Regions from separate parts of the Homo sapiens genome. Here region 1 is linked to region 2. The links are contacts of gene promoters, found by promoter capture Hi-C in blood cells and fetal thymus (Javierre and others, 2016). All regions are on one chromosome and are shown on one strand. The core of a region is centred on a gene start or on the middle of the fragment in contact, and the rest is flanking DNA. Distances in the headings are between cores, read along the strand shown.

What was found. The method cuts DNA at HindIII sites, captures the fragments that hold promoters and counts their contacts. A CHiCAGO score of 5 or more calls a contact.
Region 1: the fragment with the promoter of LSM6 here is called in contact with the fragment with the promoter of SMARCA5 in region 2 in 1 of 17 cell types (activated CD4 T cells); the score reaches 9.1 in activated CD4 T cells.

What each region holds. Positions count from the first base shown.
Region 1 is chr4:146,172,483-146,179,452 of GRCh38, forward strand. It overlaps LSM6 (LSM6 homolog, U6 small nuclear RNA and mRNA degradation associated), which reads left to right and starts at 3,236. Exons shown (of 4, transcript NM_007080.3): 1 at 3,236-3,329. RefSeq lists a silencer at 3,386-3,445. The HindIII fragment of the contact is 3,935 bases long and covers 1,840-5,774 here.
Region 2 is chr4:143,508,100-143,515,363 of GRCh38, forward strand. SMARCA5 (SNF2 related chromatin remodeling ATPase 5) reads left to right here and starts at 5,603. Exons shown (of 24, transcript NM_003601.4): 1 at 5,603-6,002. The coding sequence starts at 5,826. SMARCA5-AS1 (SMARCA5 antisense RNA 1) reads right to left here and starts at 6,738. Exons shown (of 2, transcript NR_104027.1): 1 at 6,346-6,738; 2 at 5,373-6,126. RefSeq lists enhancers at 5,034-5,083, 5,104-5,193, 5,224-5,293, 5,324-5,693, 5,984-6,043 and 1 more. The HindIII fragment of the contact is 18,533 bases long and covers 3,008-7,264 here.

The DNA.
Region 1 (6,970 bases), core at 1,986-4,485, 2.7 Mb after region 2:
AGTGCTGGGATTACAGGTGTGAGCCACTGCCCCCGGCCTCTCTTCATTTTCTATAACAAATAATTTTCATATCCCATGATTAAAGGCAGATAATGGTGGCCCCAAGTATCCAAAACTAGCACATCACAGCTTATGAGCTCCTATTGTACAGTCTGAAGGTCCAGGAAAGGTTCAGGTCCATGCCAGCACTTCATACCAGTTAATGCATTGCTCCAACAAGACCAGCCAGTATTCTTGGAAGCTTAACATCCATGTTACATATTAAAATCTGCTTTGGAGAGTGTTGGTCAATCCAATTACATGTTTGTATTTATCATCATCATCATCATCATCAACAACAACCACAACAACATCACAATACATTCATCTACATGTTCACAGGGCTGTTGGGTGTTTAATAAGCTAGACATGAGACCATCTTTTATGAATATGAAACATTGAAGGACATAGTTATTTAAAGGCATATGTACTATAGAACTGTAGAAGGGACAAACAATGAAGTGGCAAGAGTTCTCTTAGCATTTATATATCTGCATTTGTCTATTTTAAGCATAATAGCTTCAAGAGAATGAAAAGACAAGCCATAAACTGGGAGAAAATATTTGTAAAACACATATCTGATAAAGAACTATTATTCAAAATATACAAAGGACTCTTAAAACTCAACAAAAAGAAAGAACAAACTGATTCAAAATTGGGCCAAAGACCTGAACAACCAAAGATATACATATGGCAAATAAGTATATAGAAAGATCCTCCATATCATATGTCACTAGGGAATTACAACTTTAAACAACTATGAGATAGTCACTAAGCAGCTATTAGACTAGTCAAAATCCAAAGGACTGGAAGCACCAAATGCCCATGAGGATGTGGAACAATGGAAACTCTCATTCACTCCTAGTGGGAATGCAAAATGGTACAGCCACATTGTAAGACAGTTTGGCAGTTTCTTACAAAACTAAACATACCCTTGCTATATGATCTAGCAGTCATACTCCTTGATATTTGCCCAAATAAGCTGAAAACTTATTTCTATACAAAAACCTGCATACACATATTCATAGCAGCTTTATTCATAACTTCCCAAACTTGGAAGCAACCAAGATGTCCTTCTGTAGGTAAATGGATAAATAAACTGTGGTACATCCAAATAATGGAATATTATTCAGAACTTAAAAGAAATGAGTTGTCAAGCCATGAAAAGGCGCAGAGGGGTCTTAAATGCATATTTCTAAGTGAAAGAAGCCAGTCTGAACAGGCTACACAGTGGGGTGGTGCAGTGTATGCACCACTAACTGTGTACGGTATGATTCCAAATATATGATATTGTGGAAAAAGGCAAAACTTTGGAGACAGAAAAAAGATCAGCGGTTGCCAGTGGGGAGGAAGGGATAAATAGGTGGAGCACAGAGAATTTTTAGGGCAGTGAAACTATTCTGTATGATACTGTAATTGTGGGTACATTTCATTATGCATTTGTCAAAACCTATAGAATGTGCAACACCAAGAGTGAACCCTAATGTAAACTTTGGCCTTTGGATGATAATGATGTGTCAGTGTAGGTTCATCAGTCCTAACAACTAAATGAAACTAAACTACATAAGTTAAACTAAAGCTTGCCAAAATATTTTTATGACTTTAAGGCTCCTTAATAAATTAATGTTTACATTCAGGGTTTTGAAGACTAGTATTCACCAAAAGTCTTGCAGTGTTTTCTTTGCATCATAAAAGATGCTGAAAGCAAAAACCTGGGAAATACGGAAAATTGCCTTGTGAGTTAGTAAAAGTCATTTATAAGCTGCTGAGGGGCTTTTGGGAACAGCCACACTTTTTATAAGCTTGTTAGCTCATGAATTAATTCAGGATGCCCACCCCGTGTGTCAAACTGGGCCCTTACCCAGCTACTCCCCTTAGAGAAGGTTGCAGCTGCTCAGCAGATGAACTAGGCCCTTAAAACTCCTCATGGCTCCCTACCCACCACACTAGTGTTAACGGCTCGATTAGGGCTCTGTAGGAAAGGGAAAGAAGTTTGAATCAAAAATTTTCTTTTTTTTTTTAATAATTTAAACAATCAGTAAGGAATGTGCAATTTGATGTCGTTTGCAAAGAAAGTTTTTAGGAACAGGGCTTTTTATCCTATTATGTTTGTTCTTTGCACGTAATTATTTGATTTAAATGGTACTTTTCTTAAAATTTTTATTTACATTGTATTTTATATTGCAAGAACTTCAAATACAGCCCTCACAATAAATCAGTAACTGTTCGGTCTTTATCCAAACTGAACTTTTATAGAAGGATATAAGGAAGTCTCTATTCTTTAACAAATCATATCCAGTTGTTTTCTGTCCCTGATATCAATCAAAAGTTCATTTCTTCTGCCTTTAACCAAAAGAAGTTTACAAGGGAGGAACTCTTTATCTTCGAAAAAAATTTTGCATCTTAGATTTTATAACACCTAATGGGGTTAAGGATCTGTGTTGAAAGATCTTATCACTCTGTGTATAGTGTTACAAATCATAAATATAATTAAAGTATAAGTTTTCAACTGATGAGAGTATATGTGGAGGGGGAAAAACGAATCAAGTCCTGGTGTAACAGTTCTCTTCTTTTTCCCTTTCAATTCCATTAATAGAAAGAGTATTGAGAATTCATGCAAAATTCCAAACCAAGTTCCCATAGTAGCACTGAAATAAGTCTGCACACCATTTCCAATAGGAACTAGTAATGTAACACAATTAATGTCATTATAATTTGGAGTTACTTGAGTGATTTTGATTATTTTTGTATCAATTAACATTGCCATGGAAACAGTCTCTTGCTAAAATGGCTTAAGTCTTCACACATTTAATCAATATCCAGAGGTAGATTTAAAGACTTGAGGTGTTTCATTTATTTATTTATTTGCTTTAAACTATTCAAGGACGTTTCTGGGTACACAATGCCGTTACTTAAACAGTAAATTCCAGTTTCCTATGACTTCAAGTTATTTTTTACACTTCTGTAAATAAATCCTGCCCAAAAGATCACTTCTAGTTTCCTGGAATTTTGTTTTTGTTTTGTATTGTATTTGTTTTGTACTCAGATTTCTGTTAGAGGAACTCCACTGCACCAATTTTGCTACTAGACAAACCAGGAATCTTGGATTTGCGCGCTTTGGTGCTGACAGGCTTTTTCGGCCCCAGCGGGCTGCCGTAGCAGAGAAGAGCACTGATTGGCTGAGGCAGAAAAGTGCCCCTGCCTCGGCGCTTTCGGTTTTGGCTGGGATCATCCGCGGCGGCCGGGCTCGTGGGGCGCCTGGAGTGAGGGTTCTGGTTCCCGCCGGCGAGGTGAGCCGCACCGCTGCGCGGGCCGACGACGGGGCCGGGCGCAGCCCCAGGTTCGGTGCCCCAGTGTTCAGTCGCGCTGTGGAGCGGCGGCTGCAGCGGCCCTAGGCCGGGCGAGGCAGCCCCGGAAAGGGCCTGCGGTGAACAGGCTGGGGCTCCGGGAAGGGACCGCTGGGTGGCGGGTCCCCGCGAAATGCCGCGTCCAAGCTCTCCGCGCATGGAATGGCTGGGAGAGGTCTGATGGTGGGCGCCGGGACCGCCCTCAGCGAGGCGCCTAGACTGCGCGGAGAGGAGCGGCACCGTCCCGGCTCCTACCGAGTTGGCGTCCGAGATCAATTCAGGTTGTTGAAGTTCCCCAGGGAGCCCCGACGCTAATCCCAAGATTCGGCGGGAAAGCGGATCCCGAACCCAGGCCTAGGCTTCGCCTGTCTTCCAGGAGGGCTTCAGGGAATTGCGAACCCTCTCCTACATCGGGGTGGCTGCGCCTGACCACAGGAATTAAAGGCTGGACTCGCCTGTCTTACCAAGTTGTCAGGTCGAGGAACCCGATTGTATGGTCTTAAGTCCTATCGCCCAAGGTTTTCTGTGCGTATGCGTGTCCGCACACCTGCATAGCAGGCATTTTTAAGGTGTGTAGGATTAAGATGATGCGGATTACCCTGCCCCACTGCTCTTAGTAATACGTGACTATTGTAGAAAATTGCAAACATAGAAGACTTTAGTGAAGAAAATAATATTCACTGAACCCTTTCACCTACGATCATTTTCTCTTGTATGTGCTAGCTTCTACTTGAACTAAGAGTGTACATGTTTAATCACTTAACAGTGTAGTTTTCCACTTCCATTTAAAAACTCTTCCTAAATATTATTCTAATTTTGTATCTTCTTTTGATTGTCCTATCATTGTGGGTCCCAGTTTAGGTCCCGTAAATTATTCAGTCATTTCCCGATTGTGGGACATTAGATTGTTTTTGAATTTTTACATCATCTTAGCATCCCAGATAGTGCTTTGATAAACTCTTTTCCCCCTATTTTTTAGATTATTTCCTTGGACTAGATTCTCAGAAGTGAAATTATCAGATTAGATGCTGTCATCTGAAAGGTCTGTTTTAGGCCTTCATACACATTGCTGCAGTGTTTTCCAAAAAAGTTTTAGAGATGTTTGGTAATTTTACTTGCTTAAATATTGTGCAGAAATCTTGAGAGGCTTGTGTTTGTGGTGTGTGTGTGTGTGTGTGTGTCACTGGCGTTAATGCGTTAGACTACCTGAATGTTAGGGCAGGAAGAGACTTAAGTGGTCATCTGGCATAACTCCCTTATATTGCAGATGAGGAACCTGGGGCCATGAGAAGTGAAATTATGAGTTATCCAAGTCACACAGCTAATTAAGTAGCAGAGCTGGGATTAGAACTCAGGTTTCCTGCCTCCCAAGTGAGTACTCTGTGCTGTATCAGGCAGTCTCTCACTGAACTGTGGCATAGTAGATACTAGAATTTAAAAATTTGTTTACATCACCTGGGTTATTCTCTCCTTTTAAAAGTGTACTAACAGATTTTAATCATCGGAGAGACCTGTAACACTGAAAAATTGGAAAGTGATCATTTTCATGGCCAAGACTAGAAATCCATTATTTAGAATGGCAACCCCTTCAAGATTTTGACAGTTGTTTTCAGGTTCCCTATATGTTAGAATAAAACACCCCTGATTAATTATAACCTACACTCCATCATTTGGTTAGAATGTAGCTTTTGGTTATCATTTGCGGTACCTTGGAGATTTCTTTAAAACTCCTCACTTTAAAACCAAAGAACAATTTTTTTTATTTTTATTTATTTTTATTTATTTTTTTATTTAGGGCTTATAGCAGAGATTGTCAACTTCCATTGACATTTTGTGCTGGGCAGTCCTTTGTTGTGGAGGGCCGTCCTGTTAGTTGTAAAATGTTTAGCAACATCCCTGGTCTCTACCCACTAGGATAGCAGTAGCACCACCTTCCTCAGTCATGACAGTTCAGTGTCCCCAGATATTTCCAAGTGTCCCTGAGCAGGGTGGGGCAGGGTTGGGGGTACTGCCCCTAGATGAGAACCATTTGCTTATAGAAATTATCTGGAGAACTTTATAAAATGTAAAATACAGTGCCTTTACCTGAGTAGACTTCGGGAAAATCTGCATTTTAACAAGCATCTCTAGATTTGGAAACAGCTGGTTCTTGAATGACACAAACAGTTGTTTTCTCAGTTTTTGGTGCTCATAATAGAGATTACTTGGTTAGTATTTGTTGAAGTACATGCATGATCCTACTGGTCACTGTATCCATAGTTTGGGCTGATGGGGGCTGGACAGGGATTTTGCTTGGCACTGGCCTTGAATGTCTCTTCCACAGACTTGGGTAGTGTGCTTAGGTACCAGGGACACCAAGTGAGTAAGATATTTTCCCTGTCCCCAAGAAGCTTTAAATTCGCACGGGAGACCAGTCAGCAAATGGAAAAATTACGAAACAGCCTGATAAGGGCCATGACTGAGAGTGGAAAGAGGTGCTCTGAGTGGACTCACTTCGCCTTTGGGAGAGAGGGAGAGAAGTAGCCCCTGCTGCCGAGGAAGGAGGGATTGGTATGAAGCCTTCAAAAGACAGCGAGGAACTCCACTGTGTCCGAAGGGAGGATTTAGAGAGCTGTTCTTCTGCCTATCTGATCGCCTCCTCAGACACTGATCTATTAGTCTAGTGCTGCAATTACTTGGATTGTAATGTTTCCTTGCAATTTTTGCTTTTCAAATTCTTTTCACCCTAAACTGTAAATACGCCAGGAGTAGGTAAAAACTTACAGGTAAACATTGCCAAGAAATAAGGATTTTCATGTCTTCTGCTCAGTGGCATAACTCAAATCACATGAGATAGATTTCTTTGCATCTGTCCATTGTATTTCTCTGAGGCTAATTTACAGCACTTTGTCACGTTAGGTATTTTTTTTCCCCAGTGCTGCTACTCTCCAACTGGATTTCTCACCGCCTCTATTGCGATTCCCCAAGATTTAACCAGAGAATCTTAACATATTCAGAAGGGCAGCTGTACCTGTGAAAGGGCTTGGGCTTTGGGGTCAGCCTTGGCTTTGCTTTCCACCTCACAGGGTTTCTCTGTAAATTGCTTATGAATCTAACTCTGGTAGCACATAGTTGGGTTAATAAAAGTTCTTTTTTTTCTTCATTCTTTTACCAAAAAGAAAAAAATTCCCTGCAGGGCACTTTGCAGATGTTTTCATACTAGACCTCTCAGTAGCTTCTGACAGAAAATATACTGCCTTTGACTTAATAGTCATTTATGAAAATAGGTCATTTAAAACAAGCCTGAGTAGGAGTCAGGGGAGGGAGAGGAGGTATAGAGAGTGATTATGACTTTAATTTTGAAAGGAGAAGTTTTACCAGGGTGACCCTGAAGAAAGGTCTTTTTCCTCTTATGTGTTTATGGTTCAAGAGACTCATCTCTTGCTTCAGAAATTGTCAGAACTGTTTCTTCTGCTTTATCCAATTTAAAAGATGAAAACTTAAAATTACTTGAGCCAAGTGATGGGAAAAATTGTGGTGTCAAGACCAATTTACTCATACAAAATGGATTTATGGGCAAGTCATTAAGTAACAGGGAGTAGCAA
Region 2 (7,264 bases), core at 4,353-6,852:
TTAAGTTGTCAAATTTATGTGTGTCGTACTCCTTACTACCCTTTTGATGTTTTCAAGGTCTACAATGATAGGTCCTGTTTTATTCCTGATATTAGTGATTTGAGCTTTGTTTCTTCCTTCCTTCTTACCCTCTCTTTTTTTCCTTTCTTCCTTTCTTGTCAGACTTCCTAGAGGTTTGCCAATTTTACGTATCTTTTCAAAGAACCAGTTTTTGCTTTTTATTTTCCGTATTTAATTTTATTGACTCCTGCTCTTACCTTTATTATTTCCTTCCTTTTGTTTACTTTGGATTTATCCTTGCTCTGCTTTTTTTAGTTTTTTGAGGTGAAAGCTTACATTTGAGACTATTCTCTTTTCTGAATGTAAGCATTTAGTGTATAATTTCCCTCTAAGCACTGTTTTAGCTGTGTTCCACAAATTTTAATATATTGTATTTTTATTCTGTTCAATGTACTTTTTGATTTCTCTTGAGACCTCTCTTTGACCCATGGATTATTTAGAAGCACGTCATTTAGTTTGAATATATCCCTGGTAACATTTTGTTACTGATTTCTGGTTTGACTCCATTGTGGTTAAAAAACATACTCTGTATGATTTCACATCTTTTAAATTTGTTAAGGTTTATGGTCTATCTTGCTATATTTTCTGTGGGTTCTTGAAAAGAATGTGTATAGTCCTACTTTTGTAGAAGAAAAAAATATGTGCAGTGTTGTATAAATGTCAATTAGATCCTATTGGCTGTTGTTAAGTTCTTCTATACCCTTGCTGGTTTTCTGCCTAGTTGTAGTATCAGTTGTTGAGAGATGCTGTAGTCTCCACATATAATTGTGGATTTGTTATTTCTAATTTCAGTTCTGTCACCTTTTGCTTCACATATTTTGCAGCTCTGTTGTTTGGTACATATACATTTAAAATTGCTATGTCTTCTGGGTTGACACTTTCATCATTATATAATGTCCCTCTTTGTCTCATAATTTTCTTTGCTCTGAAGTCTACTTTATCTGATAATGATATAGCCACTCCTGTTTTCTTTTTGCTATTGTTTTAATGATATATATTTTCCATCTTTTTACTTTCAATATTTTGAGCAAAAGACTGCCTAATTTCCTTTGTCTGAAGTTCCTTTTAATAAATGAGATAAAAACTAAATAAAAAAACTCTAATTTCTTAATTGAAGCTTTGTAGTTTATTATTTCAAAAATGTTTCAAAGATGGTGGTTAAAATTTAACTTTGGATCATAATATTTGAGTTCCTAGAAATACTTTACCTAGAACCAGCCCAACAAAAAAGAAATTATTTTTTCATGAGCAGGAAGAAATGCAGAGAAAACCTGAAAAACTTTGACTACATAAACATATGCATATATACCGAGCAGACACAAAGTCTCCCACTATTTAGTTGGTGACTAAATATGAGGGGAATGAAGGGAATATATCCTTACCTGTTTATTAACAGTACAGTTAATGTTTCTCTTTAACTGAAATCTCTGTACATTGACAAATGACCTATGTGGGAGAACTCTAAAAAAGATACATACAACATGTAATCATTGGTATCTGGTGTTGGAAATACCCATTCTTAGATACAAACTCAATACAGTTTTATTGTCTTGCAGTAATCAGACTTTATTTTCTTAAGCTTTGACAAAATGAGTTGCAATGAAGAGAGGTGTTGCATTTCTTCTTTGTCCTTGAGAAAACTTTAACTCCTTTCTGTTACCATTCAAGGACACAATGCTGAGAGAGCCCTGGCTCTTCGGCACATTTTTGTCCTCTGGCAACATCTCTTTGTTCCATTGTATTTCTGTACTGTACTTGCTGTTCTAGCACATTAAATCTAACAGAGGAAATTTTAGGTGTAAACTATGTATATACATATTGGAGATAGAACACTAACATTATTTTACACTGTAGCATTCTGTTGCTGGGAATACGACTAAAGCTCTAATCCTTTCTGGTGTTTTCTTGCTACCAAACCCCTTACCCTCCTCCTTCTTTGGTTCCTCTTCTTTCAACTAGACTCTAAACCTTAGGCTTATGATTCTCAAGGATAAGACTAACACTTGAACCCAGAACTCACTATATGTCAGGCACTGTATCATGTACCTTATACTGTCTCATTTAATTTTTATGACATCATAATATTATCTCAAAATAAAGCTAGGAAAATATAATAATAAAAAGATGAGAAAATTGATTTCAAAGAGGTTAGATAACTTGTCTGCATTCACACAGCTACTAAGTTCCAGAGCCTGCACTGGAATCTAGGCTTGCCTGCTCCCCAACCCACTCTTTTACCAACACATGAATTCTGTATTATGTGATCAATTCAACAACTAGCTGCTAGTTTTAGCCTTTTAGCAGGATTTTGTGATTTGGCCACCATATTAGTATTGCTATCTGCCTGAGGAACACAGCTAATGTCCCTGTAGCTGTTTCTAGGCTTCATGTCTTTTCTGTAGCTCTTCTCTGCTTTTCCTTTCTGGTTCTAAACTCTGCCAAAAATCTTTTTCTCTGTCACTTATGCTAGATAACTGAGTTCGAGCATTCTGTGTCCTCTTGCTAGTTTCCATCTTTTCTCTATAATTTTCCCCCGAATGATTCTAATACAGCTTTCATATGATCATATGAGAAACTCACATGTAAATGCACATGTTAAAAGACAATCGCCATTTTGGAGGCAATTTTTATTTATTTATGTGCATTGTTTTCCTTGCTATTTATTGCTTTCCTTAAATAGTTATCAGACTTAAGATCCTTTCATTTATATACCTACATATAACTTTAGGGTTTCCAGACCAAGACCCAAGATTTCTACCTAAGACTATAAAAAGTGAAGAAACATTTCGAATGCTAAATTAATGTTTTAGTCTATTTAATGTAAATATAAAAATATTATTCATCAAGTATTTATTAAGTATGTGTCAGGTTCCACCCTAGACACCACTTTCTTACCCTTCCACATAATTTTTTTTCGGTGAAAGAACATTTTTTAAAATTAAAAATAAGCTTTCTAAAAATGGGGAGATGTTGGTCAAAGGATACAAAGTTTTGGTTATACAAGATGAATAATTTCTGGAGATGTAATGCACAGCATGGTAACTATTGTTAATAATACTGTTTGCATAGTTGAAATTTGTTGAGAGTAAATCTTAAATGTTCTCACCATGCTGGCAGGCAGTAAATATAAGAGGTGATGTATATGCTTATTAGCTTGATTGCGGTAATCATTTCACAACGTGTTTATATATCAAAACATCACATTGTATGCCTTAAATATATACAATTTTGTGAATTATACCTCAGTAAAGCTGAAATTTTTTTAAAAAAAGTTTTCTTAATACAATAATAGGCAAATTCGGCAGCCTGGCACAGTGGCTGTCACCTGTAATCCCATCACTTTAAGAGACTGAGGCAGGTAGATGGCTTGAGCCCTAATTGTTGTTCAGGACCAGTATGGGCAACATGGCGATCCCTGTCTACACCCAAAAAATACAAAAATTAGCTGGGCTTGGTGGCATGCACCTGTAGTCCCAGCTACTTGGGAGGCTGAGGTGGGAGAATTGCTGGACCCCAGGAGGCTGAGGCTGCAGTGAGTCACGACTGTGACACTGCACTGCAGCCTAGGAGACAGGGCAAGCCACTGTCAAAAAACAAACAAACAAACAAACAAAAACAAAAAACCAGCAACGATCAGTTTCAATACTTTTGTAAATATGCTTCCAACTTTTATCTACATTTTTGAACTGTTAAACCAAATTTTTCAGTTAACACTTTATAAATTAACATTCTTTGGCTAGGTGCGGTGGCTCACGCCTGTAACCCCAGCACTTTAGGAGGCCTAGGCGAGCAGATCACTTGAGACCAGGAGTTTGAGACTAGCCTGGCCAAAACAGCAAAACCCTGTCTCTACTGAAAATACAAAAATTAGCCAGGCGTGGTGGTGCACGCCTGTAATTCCAGCTACTCCGGAGGCTAAGTCATGAGAATCCTTTGAACCTGGGAGTTGGAGATTGCAGTGAGCTGAGATCATGCCACCGCACTGCAGCCTGGGCGACAGAAACTGTCTGAAAACAAAACAACACAAAACAACCATTATTCTACATTAATGGTTGTTAAAGGTTAATAGTTCATTTTCTGGGTGTATGACAGTTTTAAACACCTAACTTTTAATACTGGATTCAGCCTACTGTTGTTAGCTTTTTGCAGTCATATATGAAGACTATGATGAACATCATTGTAGGTATTCATCTTTGCATATATCCTTAGACATTTCCTTATAGTCTAAGAACTAGCATTTCTAGTGGAGTGGGGACATTTTTCCAGATGTCCATTTAAGAATTATCATTCCATTAGTTAAAAAATTTGCAGGCTATATATTCAAAGGGGATCCCTTCTGTTTGGAATTCAACATAACCAGTTAGCTCAAACCTCAACTCTCGAAAAATGTGTCTCCTTTACTCAACAAACATTTAGAGAATACTGAATATGAGGAATAAAAAAAGATAAAAAAGACCCTGTACTGGGCAGGTAATCTACTGTAGTATGCAGATTCGTTATCAAACAGACTACAATGTATTTAAATTTTGTAGGCGATGAATGCACAAGGCCCTTAAGCTGCATTGAAGGCTGCCTAAGGCAGTATACAAAATCAGTGCTGAATATTTGTTAACACTTAAGGAGAATGTACGTTTTAATTTTCATGTTTGATGCTTGGGGAAAAGATTACATCGCACCACCTATCTTCCCCATATATTGATTATTCGTGTTTCTCACTTCCATGGTAGTGTGCACGTTATTTGCTTAACTTTGGCATATAAATTCAGAAGAAATATCATTTAACTCTGTGCCTAAGGAGGGTATTTAGAAATAACCGACGCAGCTAACATGAGAAGGCAAAAAAAAAAAAAAAGAAAAAAGAAAAAAATCACACTAACGGACTTTTTTTTTTTTTCTAACAACAAAAAACCGTGAGACTTCACTTGGGGTAACCATAACGTCGTCAAGGCTGTGGCGTCACGCCTCTAAGCGGATACGGCAGAAGTTTTGGGGCCAGACACAAGACTTCCAAGTTTGAATGGGCAGCGCAAAACCCAGACAAGTTTTCCGGTAGTGCCGCCAACCCCTGTCAGGCACAGAAGACACAGCGAGAACCGTGAGCCGTTACGAAAGCCTAAAACACTGAGCTCGCGTCCTGCCAAGCAGCAGGCGCACAAACCTACACCTCCGAGCGCTCCCTGGAGGTCCCGCCCACTCTTCTCTCCCGAGCCGGCTAGAGATCTGGAAGAGGGCGGGCCAAGGGTGAGGAGGGCAGTATGCGCATGCGCGCTCAGGACCCAGTCAGTGAGCCAATAAGGAATCTCGCGAGTGTTGAAAGTCGGTGGCGTAGGTCGTCGTCCTGGATGCTGGCGAGATAGATGTTATCTTCCAGAGGAAGAGGAGGAGGCGGCGAAGCGTTTTCCCAGCCTCAGTCTCTCTTTCGTTTTCCTTTTCCCTTCCCCCAACCCTCCGCCCTTCTCTAAATCAGCCGGCCTTCCTTGACCTCAGTGACCCGTCTGGCCCCGCCCACCCTCGTCGACGTGATTCCCGCCGTGAGGTAAGCGCCGGTGGAACCTAGAGCCCCGCGGAAGAGCAGAACGTTTGGGAGTGTGCAGCTCCTGGGCCCGGCTCAGGCCCGTCGCGGAGGCGCGGCGCAGGGGAGCGCTCGGGTGGGAGTCTCGCTCCTCCACCAGTTTATTGCGACGTAGCATCCAGGCCTAGGCCTCCCCGTCCATCCCCGCCGGACTCGGGCCTCTGGCAGCAGCGGGTGACGCAGACGGAACATCATGTCGTCCGCGGCCGAGCCTCCGCCACCCCCGCCTCCCGAGAGCGCGCCTTCCAAGCCCGCAGCCTCGATCGCCAGCGGCGGGAGCAACAGCAGCAACAAAGGCGGCCCCGAAGGCGTCGCGGCGCAGGCGGTTGCGTCTGCGGCCAGCGCTGGTCCCGCAGACGCCGAGATGGAGGTGAGGGCGACTTGCGGCATGGGGAGCGGGTGCAGCGGGGAGGAGGAGCTGGCTCCCTCGCCGGATCGTGGCGATCGGACGCAGAGCCGGGTTTCTCTCTCTGCACCAGACTCAGCTTCACACCCTGTGGATACGAAATGATGCTCTCACTCTTGCTCCCTTGTTCTTACCCTATTCGAGCTAAGCAAAATGGATTTCTGGCTCCTCACATTTAAATTATTTGTCTCTTTCGTGAATCCTGACAAATATTTGAACGCTCTCAGTGAACAGATGTTCTTGGTTACCGTGGCCCGGGGGACCCATCGTTTTTTTCCCACTAGACTCCCATAATTCCCTCTCCTACCTCTGAATGTGGTTTTTAGTTTCCACCAAACTTCGGGGAAGGGCGAGGAGATGACCCCTTAGGAGCGGGATGCACGGGCGGGGTGAAGGAGGCATTTAAAAGCAGCGCGTCCGAGGACTTGGGCCTCCTTTTCTTCTTCCCGGTCCTTGCAGGGGCGGTATCTGTTGTGGGCAGAAACAATGGCGAGAGCTGGATGGCCGAGTGCGCAGTGGGGATAAGCGGGGCGCAGCTGCTTCTGTGAAGGGAGAGAAGGCCCCTCCCAGGCACTATTCCACTGGAAGGGAAGCAACCAAGGCAGCAGCAGCTGTCTCGGATCCCCCGTCTAATTTAGGGGGGATGAATAAGTGTAGGAATGAATTAGAGAACCAGGCGCAGTTGGTTGGCTCTCAGTCCGGCACTTTTCTCTTTTTGGCCTCTGGCCTTAAGAAAAAAAAAAATTAGTACCACTCGCTGCCGAGACTTATGGGTTTGGGTTGGGCAGGGGATGCTGACAGTACTGAGGGGGCTGGAAAGATGGGGGAAGCTGCCAGGCGGGTAAATTGGATATGCTTCCAGGCTTTGCATCTGGGAACAAAGTAATTGCTCCTTCCAATTTTTATTTTCTTGGCCTTCGACCTGTTTTGAGATATTTTGTGAGTCGGAGCCCAAAGATTTCTGGGATTTTCCTATCCTTAGACAGAATGAAAGTAATACTGCTCCGAAGATGAGTCTTGATGCAGAATCATTATACAGTAAGAAAATGGTAGCGTAATTTACCATTGAGGCTTTTGGCACAGTAGTTATATTTGGGTAGCTGGGGTTAAGTAACATTAATGTTAGTAATCATTTAAAGAACTTTTAGTGGTGAGGGTAGGTTTAGTGACATAGGAACTCCTGATAGTTCCTGTAGTTTTGAGTGATTAAGATAAGATTACTTCCA